3 separate regions of the Homo sapiens genome follow, and all the other regions are linked to region 2. The links are contacts of gene promoters, found by promoter capture Hi-C in blood cells and fetal thymus (Javierre and others, 2016). All regions are on one chromosome and are shown on one strand. The core of a region is centred on a gene start or on the middle of the fragment in contact, and the rest is flanking DNA. Distances in the headings are between cores, read along the strand shown. Region 1 holds the start of TRDMT1 (tRNA aspartic acid methyltransferase 1). Region 2 holds the start of PTER (phosphotriesterase related). Region 3 has its middle 38 kb from the start of MINDY3.

Region 1 (2,700 bases), core at 48-2,547, 760 kb before region 2:
CAAAGCATTTTACCCTAAAATAAATTTCTTTGACACTTTTTGAAATGGCCCTACACAGCCATCTCTTGTGGGGAAAATCTACATTCTATAGAGACTCCCTTTCCCTTTCCAGGTCTTTTCCTGATCCAAGAGATATTTAACTAAGAGTCTGGCATCTTTTTACACATGATAAGAGACATTTGCCAATTATTCTCTCTGAAGCCTGTTACGTATGAGACTTCGTCTACATAATAAGAACCTTGGTCTCCACCTTATCTTAACCCAGACACATTCCTTTCTATTGATTCCAGGTCTTTAGGTCACAACTTAACTCTTTCAACCAACTGCCAATCAGAAAATCTTTGAATCCACCTGTAACCTGGAATCCTTCCCCTTTTTGAGTTGTCCCATCTTTATGGACCAAACTAAGTACACCTTCCATATACCAGTTAATGTCCTTATGTCTCCCTAAAACCATATAATCCCAAGCTGTAGCCCAACCACCTTGGGTACATGTTGTCAGGACCCTGTGGGGTTGTGTCATGGGTCACGGTCCTCACCTTGTGCTCAGAATAAACCTCTTCAAACATTTTACGGAGTTTGGCTTTTTTCGTCAACATGAGCCTCTAACAGTTGGTTACTGGATCATCCTGAGGAATCAAGGCCATAGCACTTAAAGACCCATAAATAATCCTACATGATATTCACTGTGTATTCTATGTAGGTGTAATTTCCAAGCTAAAACATAATTAACCCCACTAATAGACACAACAAACATCCTCTGTATTATCAGCACGCACACAGGGCTTTCTCTGCTGCGAGTGGACTTGTGTCCTTACTTATAATTCTGGAATCTTCTCTAGGGGAGAGGCTGGTCTAATTTCTCTCTATTGACCCAGGGCAGGCAGGAAACAAGGCACACTGTGGAAAGAATGTTTGAATGTTCAGGCTTCTAAGTGACAGAAAAGCAGCTTGTCTGAAAAATGATTTTTTTCTGGCTTCTAACCAGTGTTAATTCACTTGGAAACCAAGGCAGTTTTCTCCCCTTTACTGAACTCTGGATTTCTTTTCCAATCAAGGCCCCTGACACCAAAGAAGGAAATGGAGCGTAAATCAGGCTACAGAGTGGCTGCCATTCATTCGGGAAGCCTTATTGTTTTCCGTCCTTTGTTCCCCTCTAGACCCTTGCCAATCCCCAGGCCGCGAGGCCCTCTGAAGCCCTGAGCCTGGAGCGGTAGGAGACGGGGGAACTGAAACGCCGCGGAACCAGAGGCTGAGGGAGCGGCGCGATGGAGGGAGGAGGAGCGACGGACCGGCAGGCCTAGCTCCGGGGCTGCGGCGGCTGAGGCGCGGGGATGGAGCCCCTGCGGGTGCTGGAGCTATACAGCGGCGTGGGCGGCATGCACCACGCGCTGAGAGGTGAGAGTCCATCTAGCACCCCTCTCTCTATTCGCTCACGGGGGCTGGTTGGAGCACCCGCGCCGGGAAGGGGCGGAGCGGCGAGACGCAAGGGGCGGACACTGTGGGGCGGACACTGTGGGGCGGCCCTCGGTTGTCCTGGAAACAGCTCCTGCGCGCCGCCGTGTCCACCCCTCCAGACGCTGACTCCCTTCTCCTGGCGCCGAGTCTGGCTCGAGGGGCCGCACATGGCGCCTCAAAGGGCCCAGTTGGGAGTCGGGATTCGCAAGGCAGTAAATCAACCTCAAAGGGTATCAAAGGGGCGAGACCCTCGCCTGGTGCCAAGCCCCCATTCTAAGTGTGCAGCCACCGAGAAGCATGGAGACTCGGTCCTTCATCCTGGGGGGCTTCCCAGCTGGGGAGGGAGGGAGTGTCAGGGGCTCCCCTGGTGAGAGATGGATCTTGGAAGGGATAATAGCTACAATTCAAGGTAGAAGTTTGCGAATGCTAAATAGGATGGTAGAGGAAGCTTGAAGAACTTGGACGTCTGATCGTTGGAAAGAAACGTGTCTTCTGTAGTTCTGCGTTTAGATGCCAGAGAACTGAGTTCCAGCTTGGTGGCAGTGTGACGTTGGGCTACTTCGTGAACAGTGATGAACCTGTTTCCTGGTTTTAAAAGAGAATGATTATTATAAGGATTAAAGTCTGTCAAGTGCTTGTTAGTGCCTGATACATTGTAACCACTCCAAATATTATACATTATTATCACTATTACTTTAAAACGACATCACGAGATATTATCAAGCAAACTATTACTTTTATGCACGTCTTTGATTTTGAGGTTTTTGATTTCTTTCATGCTGAGTTGGAACTGAAAGTTTTACTTTTGGTGATATTCACTCAAAATTATTTATTGAGCTCCTATTCTGTGCCAGATTTTGTGCTAGGAGCTGGGGATACAGAATGACAAACAGGCTTTGAAGGTGCATGTTTATTCTTAAATTACTAAGACAACCACCGAACTGAAACTTCCCTGCTTCCTTATTTAGGACCAAGAGTAACAAGAGTAACTGTAAGATACAGACAATATTTAATGGGTTTAGCGTATAAGTTTTTTGAGCAGATTTATTGAGTTTCAATTCTAGACTAGGTTAATGATCATTAAGTTTTTAGTACTTGTTTGCCGGCTATCTTTATTTCTCATTTTAAAACTTAGCAGCATCAAAGCAAAACTCTAGTACTATTTACTCTTTGTTAATTCTCTAAAGTGATATAATGTCCGCGTTTTCCCATATCTTGAAACTCCTTAATGAATTGCTTAGT
Region 2 (2,700 bases), core at 168-2,667:
CCTGTGGGAGACTGAGCTGGGAGGATCACTTGAACGGGGGAAGTGAAGGTTGCAGTGAGCTGTGATAGCACCACTGCACTCCAGCTTTGGTGAAATAATGAGACCTAGTCTTAAAAAGCAAGAGGCCGGGCGCGGTGGCTTACGCCTGTAATCCCAGCACTTTAGGAGGCCGAGGTGGGTGAATCACAAGGTCAGGAGTTCGAGATCAGCCTGGCCAGTATGGTGAAACCCCGTCTCTACTAAAAATACAAAAATTAGCTGTGTGTGGTGGAGCGCGCCTGTAGTCCCAGCCACTCAGAAGGCTGAGGCAAGAGAATCGCTTGATCCCGGGAGGCGGAGGTTGCAGTGAGCCGAGATCGCACCACTGCACTCCAGCCTGGGCAAGGGCGAGACTCTGTCTTTAAAAAAAGCAAAAGAAAACCAACTTGTAGAAAGTCACTGAGCTGGAACCAGAACTAGAATAGGGCTCTACTCTTTCTGGGTCCAAAGTTCTTTAAATCAGCAACCCCTCTTACTGCCTATGTAAGGGTATACCTTTAGTTCCTGTTGACTTGGGATGTACAAAGAATGAGGTAGTCTAAGAGAGTAACAGCACACTGGCTGTGGAGTCAGAAAGACTCCACCTCTAAACTTTGTTTCCATCTCTAAACTTTCCAGCAGTGTGGCCTAATTTTTCTGTACCTTAGCTTTGTCGTTATCACTAGAATCCTTCACAGGGCTGCAGAGTGGATTAAGCAAGAGTGCACAGGACTCAGACATATGACCGCTGGTAATTGGCTTTTATAAACTGTCAAAAAATATAGACCTGTAATGCCAGCACTTTGGGAGGCCGAGGCAGCAGACTGATTGAGCCCAGGAGTTCGAAACCAGCCTGGGCAACATGGCGAGACACTCTCTACAAAAAATACAAAAATAACCGGACATGGTGGCACGTGCCTGTAGTCGCAGCTACTCAGGAAGCTCAGGAGGCTGAGGCAGGAAGTTCGCTTGAGCTCAGGAGGTCGAGGCTGCAGTGAGCTGTGATCGCGCCAAATGCACTCTAGCCTGGGAAGCAGAGCCAGACCCTGAATCTAAAAAAAAAAAAAAAAAAAAGCTTATTAAAGGAGGCTTAGCACAGCTACCCGATGACGCCCCCGGGCATTGCTGTCGAGCCACAGGGAGCTGGCGCCACACGGGACTGGCGCTCTTTGCAACGTCCCTCAAGCACTTAAGGAGAGGCGGCAGGGCCCAAGCGCAGCGGCTAGAAAATCCTTCCTTCCGGCAGGACCCTCGCGTGGAGCTCTGCAGCGAACCCTGGCCGCGCGGCCTCCGCCGTCGGGCCCCACTCTTCCTACTGGGCCCACAGTTCCGGCTCCTGCTCTGACTCCAAGAAGCCTTACCTCGGGTACAACGCGCTGCCTTCTCCCTGGGAACTTCCGGCAGGCCAACTTCCCTGGCCTTTTTAGTCTCCCCTGTGCCCTCCCACTTCGCCCTCTGGTTCTCTCCCCGCCCCTGGCCCGAGGTCACGCCCTCACCGAGTCCTAGGACACGCCCCGTGGGTCCTTGCCAAGCCCTACCTCTTCGTAGGACACGCCCTTCAAACCCTTGCCACGCCCCACCCTGGTCCGGGGCCGTTCCCCGCGTTTTTGCCTGGCCACACCCTCCTGCAGGCGCTGTCTGACTGTCGGTAGTTTGGCTGAATGAAAAAAATTCGGGGCTAGATCCCCAAACGGAAAGAAACTGTTGCATTTTCCCCAGATCCCAGTTCTCCATAGAACAGTCTGGAACAAGGGAGCATTCCGTAGCTCTTTTGGTTTTCCCCAAGAATAAATCGGAGGTGGTGCTCTGGCAATTTGATGTCACAGTGGGTTCTGGATCCTCATGCTGCATACGGAGAACTTTGGTTTTTGTGTTCCCACTTGTCACTGTTTCCTGCCCCGGTGCCGCGTTTCCTTCTCTTTAGAATTAGAGTGCCGTGCTAGAGCACTTGAACTGGCCCTGGTACTTGCTGTGACTGAAATAAACTTAGTATGTGTGAGTCTGTTGGCAAAACATGATGCTTGGAGCAGCTGCCACAGTAAAGAGTCATACCTTTAGGTATTGTAGGGGGCCAAGGGCAAACCTCTCCTTCGTCCTCTGAAAGTTTGCTGAAAATCAACTGACAAAAGACAGTTTCACAGTAGAAAAGGCATACAAATATACTAGATCGTAACTTTATGTGATCCGGGAGCCTTCAGAATGAAAACCCAAAGATGCAGGGGAAACGGTCCATTTTTTCGCTTAGGTTCAATAAAGTATGGACCGCCATGTATTCAGCTGGTGCAAAAGTAATTGCGGTTTTTAATGGCAAAAACCGCAATTACTTCTGCACCAACCTAAGAGATACTACGATGGCATAAAAAGGGTCTGAGCTAATGCCAATAGACTAAGTGAGCAAGCCCTGTCTGTTTAGATTCTTTTTGGCTTTTCTGTGCAGTGTTCCTTCCTTCTGGGTATAGAGCAGGATCCTTTCTGGAATGGGGGTCTTATGACCTACAGTCAAACAAAGCAGGGCAGAGAATTTCTTTACCGCCAGTTTTGACACAGAAAGGCAGGGGACACGCAGAGTCAAACTTTTAGGTTTTATGCTTGGCTTTGGGGATGAGGGGTTCTGGCTTCTGTGAATCACCTTGGGGAAGAGGGATTCCAGTTTCTAGAATGAGGGGCCAGAGGCAGGAGGAC
Region 3 (2,700 bases), core at 81-2,580, 540 kb after region 2:
GAATCCACGTCTAAACTCATCCAGATTGTTGGCAGAAGTGGAGGTCCCCGTTTCCTTGCTGGCTATCAGCTGGAAGCCACTCTCAGCTCCTAGAGGCCACCTGCATTCCTTGGCCTCTAGGAGCTGGGAGTGGTCCCATCCATCTTTGAAACCAGCAAAGATGCATCAAATCCCTTTCCAAGCTTTGGATCCCTGATTCGTTTCACCAGTCCATTAAAACTTGGCTTTTAAAGGGGTTCATGTAATTAGATTTTCTCCCTTTTTGCCGTATAATATAATAGAATTTATAATCATGGGAGTGGTATCTCATCATATGCATATTTTCCACGGCACTCAAATGGAATAGAATTACACAAAGGTAAGGACTATTGGGGTCTTCTCTAGAATTCTGCCTACTGCATGCCAAGTGTGTTACTTAGTTGGTAGTTATGCTATATATTAAAAGAAGATAGAACATGGCCAGGTGCAGTGGCTCACACCTGTAATCCCAGCACTTTCGGAGGCTGAGGCGGGCGGATCACCTGAGATCAGGAGTTCGAGACCAGCCTGACCAACATGGAGAAACCACGTCTCTACCAAAAATACATAAATTAGCCGGGCATGGTGGCACATGCCTGTAATCCCAGCTACTTGGGAGGTTGAGGCAGAAGAATTGCTTGAACCTGGGAGGCAGAAGTTGTGGTGAGCCGGGATCATACCATTGCACTCCAGCCTGGGCAACAAGAGTGAAACTTCGTCTCAAAAAAAAAAAAAAAAAGAGAGAAGAAGATAGAACATATACTTATTAATTTAACAAACATCTATAGCACTCCATGTACCAGATGCGATTACTACAAAGATTAATAAACCATAGTCCCTGCCCCCAAGGAGATTGACTTATAAATATGTCTTTACTGTGGTGAGTGCAAGAATGGAGAACTCTTGAAGATATAAGAGATGTGTCTGAAACTTGACATGGGACCCAGATGGGTACTAGCACGAGATACTAAAATCTAAGCAGCATATCAGATGGTAGAGGGCCTTGCACATCATGCTAAGGGATTTGGTTGTATTCTGTAGTTGATACAGAGCCCTTGGTAGTTATCAAGCAAGGGAATGGCATGAGATTCCTGCAAACAGCAGCCATCCAGACATTGACAATGTCACTAGCAATAAATAGTATAATACCAGCTTCAGCATATGCAGACTGACTCACTATTATCCTTACTGTTTGGGGAGAAGCAAATTCTAACGACCTAGTGGCCAAAAATATTAGTGCAATTTTCAAAGGAACCTAATTTGTTAACTCAACCATCATCTCGGCACTGAGAAAATCTGACTCAACCCGGCATCTCTTCCATCGATATTCTGTGACAAATTTCTAATTCACCATAATCTACTATGTCATCCTTCCAAACTTTCATGACTTTCCCACCCACCCTCTGCCAGGCTTTTCAACTACCCACAAAAAAAAAGATTTTTTTATAGACTAGAATTGAAGTTTTGCACACATTTGTTTTTTAAAAAGCTGCACATTTTTTACCTGCTGTTGCTTCCTGAGAAAAGGTTACAGGAATCTCAAGTAAATTTTAATGAGTTGGCTTCTTGGGTCTCAGAACTGATTTATGTAGGGAAGCATTTGAGATTTTGTAGTAAGTGCATGGTTGACATGAATTATCACGTAGGTGTACACCATTCCACATACATAGTCCTCTTAGTTTAAAGAGTGTCCAAGTTACAGAAACAGAATAATTTTTAAATGTCACTGTTGGATCTCTGCTAACTACAAAGAACTAAGTATTTAGAAAATCAAATTTCTGCCTCCTAGAAGTGACTCATCATTAACTTCTTGTCAGAGGAATATATTGTTTAAAAAAATAATAAATGCGGAGCAGGAACGACTATTTCCTGATTAAGAGGAGAAGAAAAAAAATCAAGTAACTCCCTTTGCATGACTGTCCCTACTCATGAGTCCATCCTGTTCTCCCTCCTGTTAGCAGACATGTGTATGACTCATGAGATTCTATTTGAAGTTTCAGCTCTGCTACTTTCCTCGTAGAGTAGCATTTTCTGGCAAAATCTATGAGGTAATGAAATGGAGAAGCCTGAGCTTTCAAGATTCCTGACTACCAAGAAGACAGGTCAACATTTTTAAACAGGAAGGCTCAAAAATCAAAATAGTAATATTTAAAGGAACATAATGTCATCTCCCCTAAATATTTTAAAAATCCATACCACGATAAGGTAATGGGAAGTTTTAGGGCTTCTATAAATTAACTTCTGAAATATCTAAATTCCTCAAAAAGAATTTTTATTCAATTAAAAAAAATGCTTCTTAACACCTACCATGTTCAGGCAGGATACTCTGCATGGGAAATACAATGTCGAATGAAGCGCCTTGTCAAATTCTATTTTAACCATAGGGTGTGGGGAGTTTATATCCTGGGAAACCTTCAAATATCAACCCCCCACCCATGCATTGCAACCATGGAAGCTTTACTGATCTTCCCAGCTGAGGTAGAAGGTAGGTGGGGCTTGACTCTGGAACAGATTGAAGACTGGCCAAAACCTGGAAGAGGCACAAAAAACACCTTTCCATAAGACACACCTACCAGCGCCATGACAGTTTACCATCACCATGGCAACACCCAAAAGTTACTGCCTATTTTCTAGCTATTTCCTGAACAACACACCTTTTCATTAGCATGAAGTGGGTATTAA

The links. The method cuts DNA at HindIII sites, captures the fragments that hold promoters and counts their contacts. A CHiCAGO score of 5 or more calls a contact.
Region 1: a contact is called between the fragment with the promoter of TRDMT1 here and the fragment with the promoter of PTER in region 2, in 4 of 17 cell types (non-activated CD4 T cells, total B cells, total CD8 T cells and 1 more). The highest score is 9.8, in non-activated CD4 T cells.
Region 3: a fragment that was not itself captured here is called in contact with the fragment with the promoter of PTER in region 2 in 1 of 17 cell types (endothelial precursors); the score reaches 6.0 in endothelial precursors.

What each region holds. Positions count from the first base shown.
Region 1 is chr10:17,200,269-17,202,968 of GRCh38, reverse strand. TRDMT1 (tRNA aspartic acid methyltransferase 1) reads left to right here and starts at 1,297. Exons shown (of 11, transcript NM_004412.7): 1 at 1,297-1,398. The coding sequence starts at 1,335. RefSeq lists a silencer at 1,600-1,659. The HindIII fragment of the contact is 5,194 bases long and covers 1-1,908 here.
Region 2 is chr10:16,435,727-16,438,426 of GRCh38, reverse strand. It overlaps PTER (phosphotriesterase related), which reads right to left and starts at 1,417. Exons shown (of 5, transcript NM_001261836.2): 1 at 1,380-1,417. RefSeq lists enhancers at 823-872, 893-1,072 and a silencer at 1,493-1,542. The HindIII fragment of the contact is 4,684 bases long and covers 1,096-2,700 here.
Region 3 is chr10:15,896,765-15,899,464 of GRCh38, reverse strand. No RefSeq gene overlaps it. Among named protein-coding and RNA genes, the nearest start is that of MINDY3, 38 kb to the right of the region's middle. The HindIII fragment of the contact is 2,291 bases long and covers 185-2,475 here.